2 separate regions of the Homo sapiens genome follow, and region 1 is linked to region 2. Evidence: promoter capture Hi-C in 16 types of primary human blood cells and fetal thymus (Javierre and others, 2016). All regions are on one chromosome and are shown on one strand. Each heading gives the region's core, a stretch centred on a gene start or on the middle of the fragment in contact. The rest is flanking DNA. Distances are from core to core; before and after follow the strand shown.

Region 1 (6,057 bases), core at 2,260-4,759, 950 kb before region 2:
GAGCAACTGTGTACCTTATTTTGATGTTTTTTGAAGATAAGGTAAAGGTAAAGCGATTTGAGAATTTTGAAAATAAATTAGTTTTTCTTTCTAAGTAGTAATTAGAAATTTCTTGGCAAGGCAGTAGTAGTTACATAGTAGTTAAGAGTGCAGGCTCTAGAGCTTAACTGCCAAGTTCCAATCCTGGTTAATACTTATTAGTCCTATCAACTTGGACAGATTAGCTTGCTGTGCCTGTCTTTTCTGTAAAATAATGTTGATAATAAAGCCTTCCTCCTAGGATTGCTGTAATGATTATAAGAGCTAGTGTCTATAAAGTGTTAAGAATAGTTCCCGGGGCAGACTAGTACTCAATAAATGTTAGTTATGAAAGAAAATGTTAAGTTTCCTCCAAGATAAATGTATTTTTACCACGTCTTTTACAAGGGGACTATCAACTATCTGAAACTTAGGTTTTGACTCATAATTAAAATTAGTTAGAAAAACCAGAGCCCTGATATCCCTTCTTACTATAATTAAACTTAAAAATAGCAGCCTACATGAGGGACATATTTATATTAAATGTTTAAATGAGAAAAGTGTTTCCTTAGTAGATAATATTATTTATGTAGGGTTATTCTAGTTTTTAAATGTTATAGTCCTATTTTGAGTAGCTTTTAGAGAATTAAGGATTTTTAGATTTTCATATGGGCTCTCATTGAAAAATGGCTCGGAGACAGGTATCCTCTGTGCCCTCATCAAAAAGACAGAGAAGTTTGTCTTCTTACCATGATTGTCAGTAAGATTAATTGCTAGCAATAATAGTAGAAGAGTTAGAACTGCAACCAACAGCTCAGTTGTGTATTTAGGCATACAAGGAGTTCAGTGTTGCTTATATGTGACATATAATGCCTGGAGGGGTAGGAGATGAGGCCAAGCAATGTGGTCTTTATCCTTCGGTGATAGGTAAAGTTAAACAAGGATTAAAAAAAAATTAAGATACTTTATTTCTGTTTGTTGGAAAGTTGACATAATACACTATACTAGTCCCCCATTGTGGGGACCACAAATGACCACAAACTTAACAGCTTAATATATCATATGCTTATAATTTTATAATTCTGTTTTTTTCAAGTAAATGCACAGAGTTGCTTGGCTGGTTTCTCTGCTTCAGATCTTATAGGCTAATATCAGGGAGTCACCCAGCAGAGCTCATGTCTTGGAGGCTCTAGAAAGAGTCTGTATCCAGGCTCATTTAGGTCGTTGGAAGAATCAAGTTTCTTGTGGTTGTAGGACTGAAGTGTATATGTTCATGGTTACTGTCAGCTTAGGGCCACCCTATCTCCTAGGGACCTCTCTCTGATCCTTACATAGGGACTGGTACATCTCAGAGCCAGCAATACCACAATATGTCTTTCTCATGCTTAGGGACTGACTTTCTCTTCTACCACATCTCTCTTGCCTGCTCCTTAAAATTCATCTTTCTGACTACAGCCAGAGAAAGTTGTCTGTTTTTAAGAGTTCACGTGATTAGACTGTGTTACTTGGATAATCCCAGAAAGGCCCCTCTCTTAAATCCTGTAATCTTTCTTAATGTCTTCAAAGTTATTTTGCCAAGTAAAATAAGAAATTCAGTTCTTAGGAATTAGGGCATGGGATCTTTAAGTGGGGCCATTCTGCCCACATATATTTCTTATCTTGTTAGAAAGGAAACCCTCAGAACAACAAGAATATTTTGAAATAAGTAAATAATCATGTAATATCTGTAATGTAAAACATGCTTCCTTAGATATGGCACCCTTATGCACTGCTCAACCATGTGTAGCAGCCCTGACCTACCGGCCGTTCAACAAATTCTTGGATGTGTCTGTGAAACTAGGGGGCTGGGTTGCCTGTTGGAGTTACCTTCCATTCTGGTGATGTTTCCTAACGCAACTTGCCAAATTATTAATACACAGCTAGTAAATGGCAGTCTTTTTGCATGAGAGCGGAAGAGTAATAGGTGGAATCAACAACAGCAGTAAATTAACAAGTAATCCTTAGAATCTAATGACATTTGCTGGATACGCCCTATGTTCCTGTTTTACAGGTGATAAATCTAGGGTCCAGAGCAGGGATGCGACTTCCCCAGTCTCATAGCTACACAGCTAGTAAATAGTGGAATCAGTTTCTGAGCCCAGGTGTCTATACTATTCCCCTTCTGTTGGTCATTGGAACTAAATTTGTTTAGTGATTCTTTCAATTCATAGTTTGTATTGAAACCAGATTTTAGAACTTTTGAATCTTCTTTTGAAATTAGATCATAATCTTGCACATATCATAGCTTTTTTGATAGATAATATGATTTTTGATGTTCTTTTATTACTATTTTTTTCCATTTCAAAATAACAAAGGATGGACTAACATAATATTTATTTCATTTATTGCTTCCCTTCTCTATTTTCTTAACCTCATTAATAATATAGATTCATTTCTGTTGTCTGCTCTGAGCTGTTAGAAACTTGACTTTTATAAAGCTTTTCCATGAGCAGTTATTCTAACTGAAATAATGGGCCTCTGTACAAGAAGGAAAATATATGTGACTAACCCTGGGGATCTAGGAATTCTTTACTTTGCACTTTAGCACCACTGTTCATTTTTTTGAAGCCGATAATTGTTTCACCTTGCAGCATTAATGCTATTGGAACAGTGCAGTTTCAAACCTTTATCTCCCTTTTACACTCATGAGAATTAAAAGCTGCAGTATATTATTCTAAGAGGTGGGCTACCCAAATTTTCTAGGCTGAGAAAATAAAACCTTAAAGGGATAAAAAGAATAGTAAAATAACTTTCATTTCAGCATCTAAATTGTAGTAGGATGGCTTAACTCCTTTCCCACACTTGGAGAAATGTATTTGTTCAGTCTTAGTTGAAAGATAGTGCACTTTCCATTGGAGCATTTGCTTTGTATTTGCCACTTTTAAAGCAGTTTTTTTTCTTTTGTAATTTTGCTATAAGAATGATACAGTTAGCATCTGTTGTCAATGTACTGTAATGGAGCCCACTAATGTTCTACATCCCTCCTCTTTCATGGAGTACGATTTTGGAAGCAAAGTAATTTTCAGCAATCTGAAAGGCTGTTTGATATATAGAAGGAGTTACCAGAATGATTAACATAACCATTCTTATTTTTTCCTATCCTCAAAATGGTACTCCTGCCCCCTCTTCCACCCCCGTGTTTCCCAGGATGTGCTGAGTTTTCTTTCTACTCTGGAACATGCTGAGAGAAAGAGAAACTAAATATATGGAGCAGAGAAAAAACTTATCTGAATATTCTTCAAAATACTTTCCTTGTAGTCCTTCAAATTTAAATTTCTAAAAGTATTTGCTGTTATGTAAAAGATGTAAACTTATTTTGATCCTTTTGCAAATATTAAGTATTGTCTTATCCCGTGTTATGAATAAATAAGAAGTAGAGAAATCACTGATTTCTCAGGACCTAAAGATTACCCTTTTAAGCCTTTATTTGTTTATTTATTTATTTGTTTGTTTGTTTATTTATTTATTTTTTGAGATGGAGTCTCACTCTTGTCACCCAGACTGGAGTGCACTGGCATCATCTCGGCTCACTGCATCCTCTGCCTCCTGGGTTCAAGTGATTCTCCTGCCTCAGCCTCCTGAGTAGCTGGAATTACAGGCATGCCCTACCACACCTGGCTAATTTTTGTATTTTTAGTACAGGCAGGATTTCACTATGTTGGCCAGGCTGGTCTCGAACTCCTGACCTCAGGTGATTTGCTCCCCTTGGTCTCCCAAAGTGCTGGGATTACAGGCATGAGCCACTGTGCCTGGCCTTATTCAGTTAATTTATTGAGAACCTGCTGTGTCCTAGACACTATTGACCACTGTATATGCAGTATCACTTTGTAATATAGCTTTTATACAATCATTTTAAAAAGAAATTTAGAAAACAAGAAAAAATATTTTATATTTACCTACATATTTACTATTTCTTTCCTTTTGACAATCTCAGTTTCTCTATAATATCATTTTCATATCACCTTGATTTTTGAAGGGTATTTTTGATGGATATGGAATTCAGAGTTAAGTTTTATCTTTCAACACCTTAAAAATATAACTCCATTGTCTTCTAGCTTACATTATTTTTAGAAATGAGAAGACAATGAAAATTTTTGTCTGTGTTTGTGTATTTTTATTGCTTATTTTTACCTTTGGCTGCAATTAGGATTCTATATATCATTGGTTTTCAGTTATTGATTATGATAATGTATTGATTTTTTTCCCTGTTTATCCTGCTTGGGATTCATTTAGCTTTCTGCATTGTAAGTTATAGTTTTTACCAAATTCGGAATTTTTTTAGTCCTTATTCAAGTGCTTTTTCTTCCTCTGTGACTCTAACTATACGTTTGTTAGAATGCTAGATACTGTTCCATAGGTCAGTGAGGTTCTGGGTTTTTCCTCAGTTTTTTTTTTCCCATTTGTCTTTCATTTTGGATAGTTTATATTGCTGTGTCTTCAGATTCATGGATCTTTTCTTCTACAGCTAAGCTTATTTGTTCAATTTTTCCTTTCAGATGCTGTATTTTTCTGCTGTAGAAGCCATATTGGTTTCTATTTTGTATTTTCCATTTTTCTCATCATATAAATATTTTCAGTGAAATCTTTTAAAATATTTGTAATAGCATTTAAAAGGCTGTTTGTCTGCTACATCTGTCTTCTCTGTCATTTCTGGGACTCTTTGTCTATTAATCATTTTTCTCCTTGTTAGGTTTCTGTGTCTTTTTATGTGCAGTAATTTTTTATTGCATGCTGTGAATGTTATGTTGTTGTTCTGTGTTTGTGTCTGTGTGTATTTTAATTTTCTTTTGAGGTGTGTGGTTTTTTTTATTTTGGAAAGCTTCTAAATTACTTATGCATCAGCCTAATCATTTTTAAGGGTCATTTTAAAGCTTTATTTCAGCAAGTATATAGTAGTCCTTACTTTGGGGCTAATTTAACCCTCCTACTAAGGCATTTTTTTTTCTGAGCTCTCTACTGAAAGCTCTGGATGTTCAGTGAAGCTGCTTAGAACTCCCATGTCTCCCAGCCCTATGCAAGCTCTGGGAATTGCATCACTTACAGCTTCCTAGTAGTTGTTCTTTGCCTGGCCTCAATGGAATCTCACACTAAACATGTACAGCTTATTTGTCTAAAGACTCTTTGAGACTCCATGCAGCTTTATGGAGTTCTATTAATATCTCTGCCTACTTTCCTCCTTGGAGGAACTCTTAGAAACCTTAGTTTCCTCAGGCTCCCCAAACCGATCTCTATCTTCTTAACTCAGTGTGAATGCCATTTTCTGCTTAGATTCCTCCTCCTCATCCTTCCATCTATATAGTATCTTTAGGCAAAAAGCTAGGGTATCTCAGGGCTTAGTCATTTTCCTTCTATCAGAGTCATAGTCCTTCCCTGCCTGCTGTGCAGTATCTGTATATAATTGTAGCATATGTCTTACTCAGTTTTCTTGATGTTTACAGCAGAAGGGTAAGTTCATTATGGCTGGAGGCAGAAGTCCCTGCTAGTTTAAGTTTAATTCTGATTTATTCTTATTCAAGTAGTACTTAGTTAATGGGAATCCTGACCAGCTGATTATACAAGGTGCAATAGGGGCATGCCTCTGAGATTTGGGCTTTCGTATTGACTCGCCAGGCATACATTCCAAGTAAGTGCAGATTGGGCCATCCTAAATCATAAGATTAGTAGCAAGACATATCAATTTTCTTAGGTTACTCTCTCATTAATTTAGAGTGAGTGAAGTTTTAAAAAATACTTTAGTTTTTCTTATACCCTCTTTAATCAGATCCCATTTTTATAAATAATGTTTTCCTTATGTGTAGTGATACATCTATATTGCTAATCAACTGTATCCTTTTAAAATTTCAGGAGCAGCATTTCTTTCTATTACTACTATCTATGCTGAGACTGGTTCAGGTTTTGTAGTACCAAGTGCTTCTGCCAAAGCAGGTGTGGAAGCCATGAGCAAGTAAGTACTTCCTTGTCAATCCTGTTGCTGAACATAACTAATACAGTTGGTGGCTC
Region 2 (6,893 bases), core at 685-3,184:
ACATACTGAGAAATGGTTGCTGAATAGTTTTTTTCAAGATCACACACACTTAACAAATCATCTTTAAAGACCAAGTTGTATGAATAGAATATTGGTAAATCAGTTAGTTATTTACAGTTGCTATTCTACACCTGGCAATACTAACTATATCTTAGGTTCCTTTTCTTTTTAAAAAATTTACCTAAGTATGAATCTTCAGGCCTTATCAGTCCTGATATTACCAGTAAACCTAGAATTGTCTAAAATACAATGGGATAATAAGCAGATACATTGACCACTTTGGCCAAAATCTTATTAATCTTATTTTTTAATTAAGATGCCTTTTTAAGGTCCTACTACATACTAAATATAATTTCATTTAATTTTGAGCCATATATGAACGGTGGAAGAAAATTATTATTAGTCCCACTTCACAGATAAGAAACCTGAGGCTCAGAAAAATAAGAGACATGCCCAAGTCCACATAGCTACTAAGTGCTAGATATTAGGATTTGACTACAAAGTTCACACCTTTATATCAAAACTTGCCTATTTGTTACATAAAAGAAAGATATCTGACTGTCCATTTATTACATGTGGACACTGCGTGTATAGATTTAAAAATTAATGTGAAAAGTAACATTTATTTATAAGGCCATGCAGAATAAATTGGTATATGCTAATAATATCCATTTCTTCAATTTACCATTTTTCTTAGAATACTAAATAAATTAGGGAGTACTGTGCTTTCCTCACGCTACAGACATGGTATACTGCCATACTAACCATAGATCACAGCATATGAAATATACTATGCACTGTTTTTAGAAGCTGAGTACTATACTTAAACTCCAATATAAATTCTAGTCTTCTTTGGAAAGTACTGATGCTACCGCTGCCGTTGAGAAATAAGATCATATAAAGTGAAATAATGAAATGAAAAGACCATATTTGAATTTACCTTGTGTATAATTCCCATATGATAACCAGATAAAATTTCATCTCAATTTCCAACTTCAAAACATTACAAAGTTAGGATTCCTTGAAACCCAATACTGCTTGTAAGTAAACTGCTCACACTGACAAAATGATAGATGAAGAGAAACATACAGGAAACATCGGGGAGTAAGAAATAAACCACCTATGACTCAAGTGGTGAAAGACATTTCACGTTCCATATATCTGGTTGCACTATTAAGGAAAAATTAAAACGAAAATATCAAAAAACTAGAAGCTTGGAGAGTTCCAACATATCTTCCATTTCATGCCTTCTCTTTATAACTAATTTAATTTTTTTTTTGGTCTATTTGAGGGATTTCTCAAAACAAAACACAATTTAACATTCGGATGGGCTAAAGCTGTCCAGGTAATAGGTGTCTGTGATTACTTTAGTCATGTAACTGTCCTTTCCGTAGCTTTGACTAAAACACCAGCAATGAAAACCTTGTGCCACCGGGTGGAGGGGGCAAATCGTCTTGAAAGCCTCCCACCGCCTGGCACCAGGTGCTGGGGCAGAGCCAAGGGGAGCTGTGTACTTAGCTCCTTTTTTGGCGATGGCTTTGGTCTCGGCCACTTGCCCCTCCGTCGGGCTCCCCTGGCCCCCTACACTTTCTTTCCCCTCATCCGACGCTCTCGCTCCCATCCCACTCCCATTCAGGGTCCACAGGGTACTGAAGGGGCCCTGAGAGATTTCCCGACCCACCTCAGAGCTTCTCTTCCTCGCCTCAACTTTCCCGGGGTCGGGCCTGGGAGACGGCGCCCACCCGCCTCCTCCACACCACGGGGCCCGACTTCCGTCCCCCAGTGTCGCTCATCCTCCCTAGCCACTTACCGACTCAAAATCCACGGGGATTTCGGGGCAGCAGCGTCGCCGCGCTCAGCCCACACGCGGAGGCCGAGCGCCCTGCTGCCCGTCGGGGAACGGCTCCTGCCGCTGGTCCGCTGGCTGACCGCGGTGGCGGCGGCGGGGGGCGAGGGGCGGGGGGCGAGGGGCGGGGGGCGGGGCGGGAGGCGGCTCCGAGGGGCACGAGGCGGGCCCAGGGCGGGCGCGGGGCGTGGCCTCGGGCGCTGAGCCTCGAGAGCAGCCGCACCCCTGCCGGGGTAGAACCGTTAAAAGGGTGGCGCGCGCTTTCCCGGGCGAGCTGGGCGCGTGGGGTTGGAGCGGCGCCACCCAGAGCCGGTCGTCTAGGGTAGGAGGCCGCGAGTGAGGCGCTGACAGGCTAGCCCTCGACGGGGCGCGCCCGCGTGAACGGCCTTGGGGGCCCCAGACCGTGGCCCTGCTTGTGCGAAGACTGGGAGGCGCCAGGCGGGCCGCCTGCTGGGGGCTTGGCGGCGGGTTCCAGGCAGCGTCTGTGAGGGAGGCCGCCTCTGTGAGGGAGGCCGCCGTCGTGCTGACGACTGAGTCCACCCTACTCCTGTCCCCCGTCAGAGCTGCTGGCAGGCGCTGCTTTCCCCTTGGTGCATTTAGTGGGTGTCGGGATTCGGGTTGGCAGGGAGGAAGATGTTTGAGACCTGGTTTACCTCAGACCAGGGATACAGCGTTTCACACAGACTGCCATCCTGAAAGGAACAAAATGAATTAAGGCAACTCCATCCGAATCATTTCTTTTTAATCTTCACCTTCAATCCTTTTGCTAATTTTTCATTATCTTTGAGTGTCCCCAGAGGGGGACTGTCTGCTTGTACTGAGGGACGTGGAGGTGGCAGTCCCTCACGTCCCCAAGCACCAAAAGGACAGTTGAAAATGCACTGGCAAACACTGAACGGTTTTAAGTGGGGCACTATCAGGATTTACCATTTTGGAAGGTATGAAGTTTCACAAGCACTTCCATGTATAGTCAAGTTATTGGAGCTGTCTCCGTTTAGAAATGGCTTCCAGAAACACTCCTACTATCCACTGAGACAACTCGCCTGGCATCAGAGACCTAGGGTCCAGGGTCAGAGATGGGTCATGATAAAAGGGCATCCCTTGGGGTGAGGCACCAGAAGTCTGCACAGTGGAATCAATATATTCCAACCACCAGATGTAGAAAATCTTAAGTGCAGGATGTGGTTCTCATCCATCTAGTCACAACAGAAGTTTTCTTCTTCAGGAATATACTTAACAATGAAGCATGTATAATTTTATATACATCTTACAATAAAATTATTTTGTGCATATCACTGTATGAAGTCAGTAGAAACTATTGTGACAAAAATGTAAATTGGAAGAATTCCAATTCAGATCAGTATTAGTAATTTATTGAGAGGAAGAGAGAAATTAGACTAGACAGACTCCTTGATTTTTTGATAATTGAGGAAGAAAAATGAACCATATAAACATATCGAAACTTTTCAAAATCTTATTGATAATGACATAAAATTTTGGCATCTACAAGGATAATCTAGAATTCATACCTTTACAACAAGAACTTGACAACAAACAGGTTAATGACTTTTAGCAACTTAAAGGTTAGTCACTGCCTGAGAAAACTTGAAGTGCCCTGAAATCACAGAGTTCACCTAAGAACCTTAAGATGAGTTTCCCCAAATTTAGCAATACTAAAAATTGGCATTATTACCAATAACAAATTGTGAAACTGCAATAACTTTTTTAAGCTTTCAATAACAAAAAATACATGTTGACTAACTTTGCTTTGAAAAGACTACCACATTATTCATTATCACCAGGGAAAGTGCATTACAAAATTACTGTCAAATGATGAGGCAATAAAAAAATGAAAACTAAAAATATAGGAAAAACATAGCAATGGTTCAGGTAGTTAATTTAAAATATCATTTTACTGAATTTCTAAAATATTTGTGGTATTTATCATCTTTTTAAAAATCTGTAATTTGTTGTCACTGATTTTCTTATTCTAAGTAAATATTTACTTTGGTCACCGCCCCCCATCCCTGCTTCCTGCCCTGCTCTGGCCACTCAAAGAATTGGAGAATGGATTGAGAAAAAGCAACAGTGGAAATAGATATCCCAGTTAGAAGGATAATAATTTATAATGTGTCTTACTACTTATAAGTAGAGGTTTTATTTAAACTTATATTTTCATATTTTATTTAACTCCACTTTCACAGTACCTAGAACTACACACACACACATACAAACTGGTTACTTGATCTCATGGTATGTGCTGTTTAGTGAGGGTGCAGATATGCAAACAGACAATTTCAACTCAGTAAATTAATTGTTAAATCTGGGTGGTGCCACTGAAAGCCTGGCAACTCAGAAAGCTGAAGAGGTAGCATTATCTCATGTTTACCAAATGATTTCCTTGCCAACCTCCTGCCAATAGTCGCCTTTTATTCATTTATTCCTCAAACATTTACGAAGCATTTTATGAAGGATACACTAACAAACACACAACACAGATGCTCATAATTATTATAGGAATGTGTTAAAACAGTGGTCCCCAACATTGTTAGCACCAGGGGCTGGTTTCGTGGATGACTGGAAGGGCGGGGTATGGTTTTGGGATGAAACTGTTTCACCTCAGATCATCAGGCATTAGATTCTTATAAGGAGCACACGACCTAGATCCCTCGCATGTGCAGTTTACAATAGGGTTCACACTCCTATGGGCCACTGTTGATCTGACAGGCAGCAGAGCTCAGGCAGTAATGCCAGCAATGGGGAGGGGCTGTAAATGCAGATGAAGCTTCAGTCACTCACCTGCCACTCACCTCCTGCTGTGTGGCTTGTTTCCTAACAGGCCAATGACCAGTACCAGTCTGGGGTCTGGGGGAGGGCAGTGGTTAGAAACCCCTGTGTTAAAAGCTATAATAATGACTTAGTTTCATTCAGCTCAGTTCAGCTCAGCAAAGGTTTTGAAGACCTATGTTTATGTGCTAGAAACTGAGGATACAAAGACAAACTGAAATACGACGAGAAAGGCTGATACACACTGAGGTTACAAAGAAAAACTGAAATATGATGAGAAAGGCTGATGCAAAATTAGCAAGAAGAGAACGCTAGCTTAATAATAGTGCCTATATATGAAATAGAAGATAGTATATGTAGTAGAAATGTTTACGTGGAATAAAAGAAGGACTACATGGAAAGGCATACTTCTGTTGAACGGTAGGAGGATGGAGAAGAGACATCACGAAAGGGTTCACAGGGGAGGTAATGCCTGAGCAGGATTTTTAAGGATAAAACATTTACCCACTTAGAAAAGGGTATTCCTTGCAGGTGAAAGAACAAGCCCAGAGATATACAGGAATAGAGCAGCAGCCAATAAAATAAAACATCAGTAATTCAGTACTGCAGAAACACAAAATACAAGAGACTGCCTGGTAGTGGCTTGATATTAGGCTAATAAAAGATGAAGTGTCTTTTATCTCCTTTATAAGGATATGGAGAGACACTGAAGGATTTTAGTTTGGGTTTAATAGTATTCTATGACCATTTGGGAAAAAATTACTTAAATGACAACATGAAAAATGGATTGGGAAGCAGAGTAGGCATCAGGCAAGACAAGAAGAGAGGCAGAGGAATCGGTTCAGAGGTTTACAGTAATCCAGGCAATGTTTATTGAGAGCCATAAGTAAAGGTAGATAGTGACCATAAGGAAAGAAAAGTACACATAGCTGAGAGAATAAGGAAAACTGCTAACAGTGTAGAGTGTGAGAGTGGAAAGTGGAAAATAGTGATGCCAGTTATTGACTTGCGCACCCAGAGCGATACAGGAAAAAAATAAAAAGATACTGTGATTTGCCTGAGGAGGCACAAGAGAATGGGATCTAGATTGTAGGTGAAGGGAAGGGACAAAAGCAAGAATAGGTGAAGTAGAGATTATCCAGTATAAGTGGAAGGGGTCTACTGTGGAAAGCAGTAGGACTTTCAAATTTTGAGATAGCATTTCTGGGGAATGTTCACCTGAAAACAGGTGAACACTGTTGAGGAGTCAGCTGAAGGTGAAGATCAGAAATTTATAAAGGCATTTACCTGCGTGGTTGTGAGATTCATTGGCAAATAAAGGAAGGGATGATAAATTGAAAGAATAATAAACCTGAAGTCCTCACAGTGTGAGACTTCCGGACAGAAGAGGTATATTTTCAAAGAGGTGTATTTTCAGACAGTGGGATAACTGAGTGTGAGAGTTGAGATGGAGTGGTTCTGAGTATAACCACCCAGCATGCCGCTGTAGAGGTGAATACCAGAAGTGAAAGGAAAATAAAGGTCATTAGACTTGACGAAGAACTGTGAGTCCAGACTGCAGTATTAGATAAGCCATTCACATTGACATTTAAATCAGTGGCATGTGATAAGAATAAAAACCAGGTACTGAAGTCTGCATTGGTGAGGAGGGAGTTAAAGGAGATCTGTGGATGGCGGATGGTAGGTAGAAGGGAAAGTTTATAAAGGAGTTAGGCAGGTACATAGGAAGAAACCAGAAAAAAAAAACACATGGCCTTACATAAGCTAGGGAATTCTCCACGTTTCCTAAACTCTTTCTTGAGGCTTAATAACTAATAAAAACTTAATGCATTTTGGCCAGGTGCAGTGGCTCACGCCTGTAATCCCAGCACTTTGGGAGGCCGAGATGGACGGATCACGTGGTCAGGAGGGCAGGACCATCCTGGCTAACACAGTGAAACCCCGTCTCTACTAAAAATACAAAAAAATTAGCTGGCCATGGTGGCGAGCGCCTGTAGTCCCAGCTACTCAGGAGGCTGAGGCAGGAGAATGGCATGAACCTGGGAGGCGGAGCTTGCAGTGAGCCGAGATTGCGCCACTGCACTGCAGCCTGGGCAACAGAGTGAGACTCCTTCTTAAAAATGTAAATAAATAAAATAAAATAATTAAAAAAATAAAAAATGTAATGCATTTTCAAGATTATTTAAATGTCCACTATCTTAAGCCAAAGGTATATCTCATGTGGAAATATGAGATACTGAGGCAAGGTTTTTCAGAAAAA

Evidence for each region. Contacts are between HindIII fragments. The CHiCAGO score rates a contact against its expected background, and 5 or more counts as called.
Region 1: a fragment that was not itself captured here is called in contact with the fragment with the promoter of C8orf88 in region 2 in 4 of 17 cell types (naive CD8 T cells, total CD4 T cells, non-activated CD4 T cells and 1 more); the score reaches 5.4 in naive CD8 T cells.

The regions. Positions count from the first base shown.
Region 1 is chr8:90,030,940-90,036,996 of GRCh38, forward strand. DECR1 (2,4-dienoyl-CoA reductase 1) reads left to right here. Exons shown (of 10, transcript NM_001359.2): 6 at 5,902-6,001. Among named protein-coding and RNA genes, the nearest start is that of DECR1, 32 kb to the left of the region's middle. The HindIII fragment of the contact is 2,032 bases long and covers 2,494-4,525 here.
Region 2 is chr8:90,983,304-90,990,196 of GRCh38, forward strand. It overlaps C8orf88 (chromosome 8 open reading frame 88), which reads right to left and starts at 1,935. Exons shown (of 6, transcript NM_001190972.2): 1 at 1,811-1,935. RefSeq lists a silencer at 1,959-2,118. The HindIII fragment of the contact is 2,363 bases long and covers 1,212-3,574 here.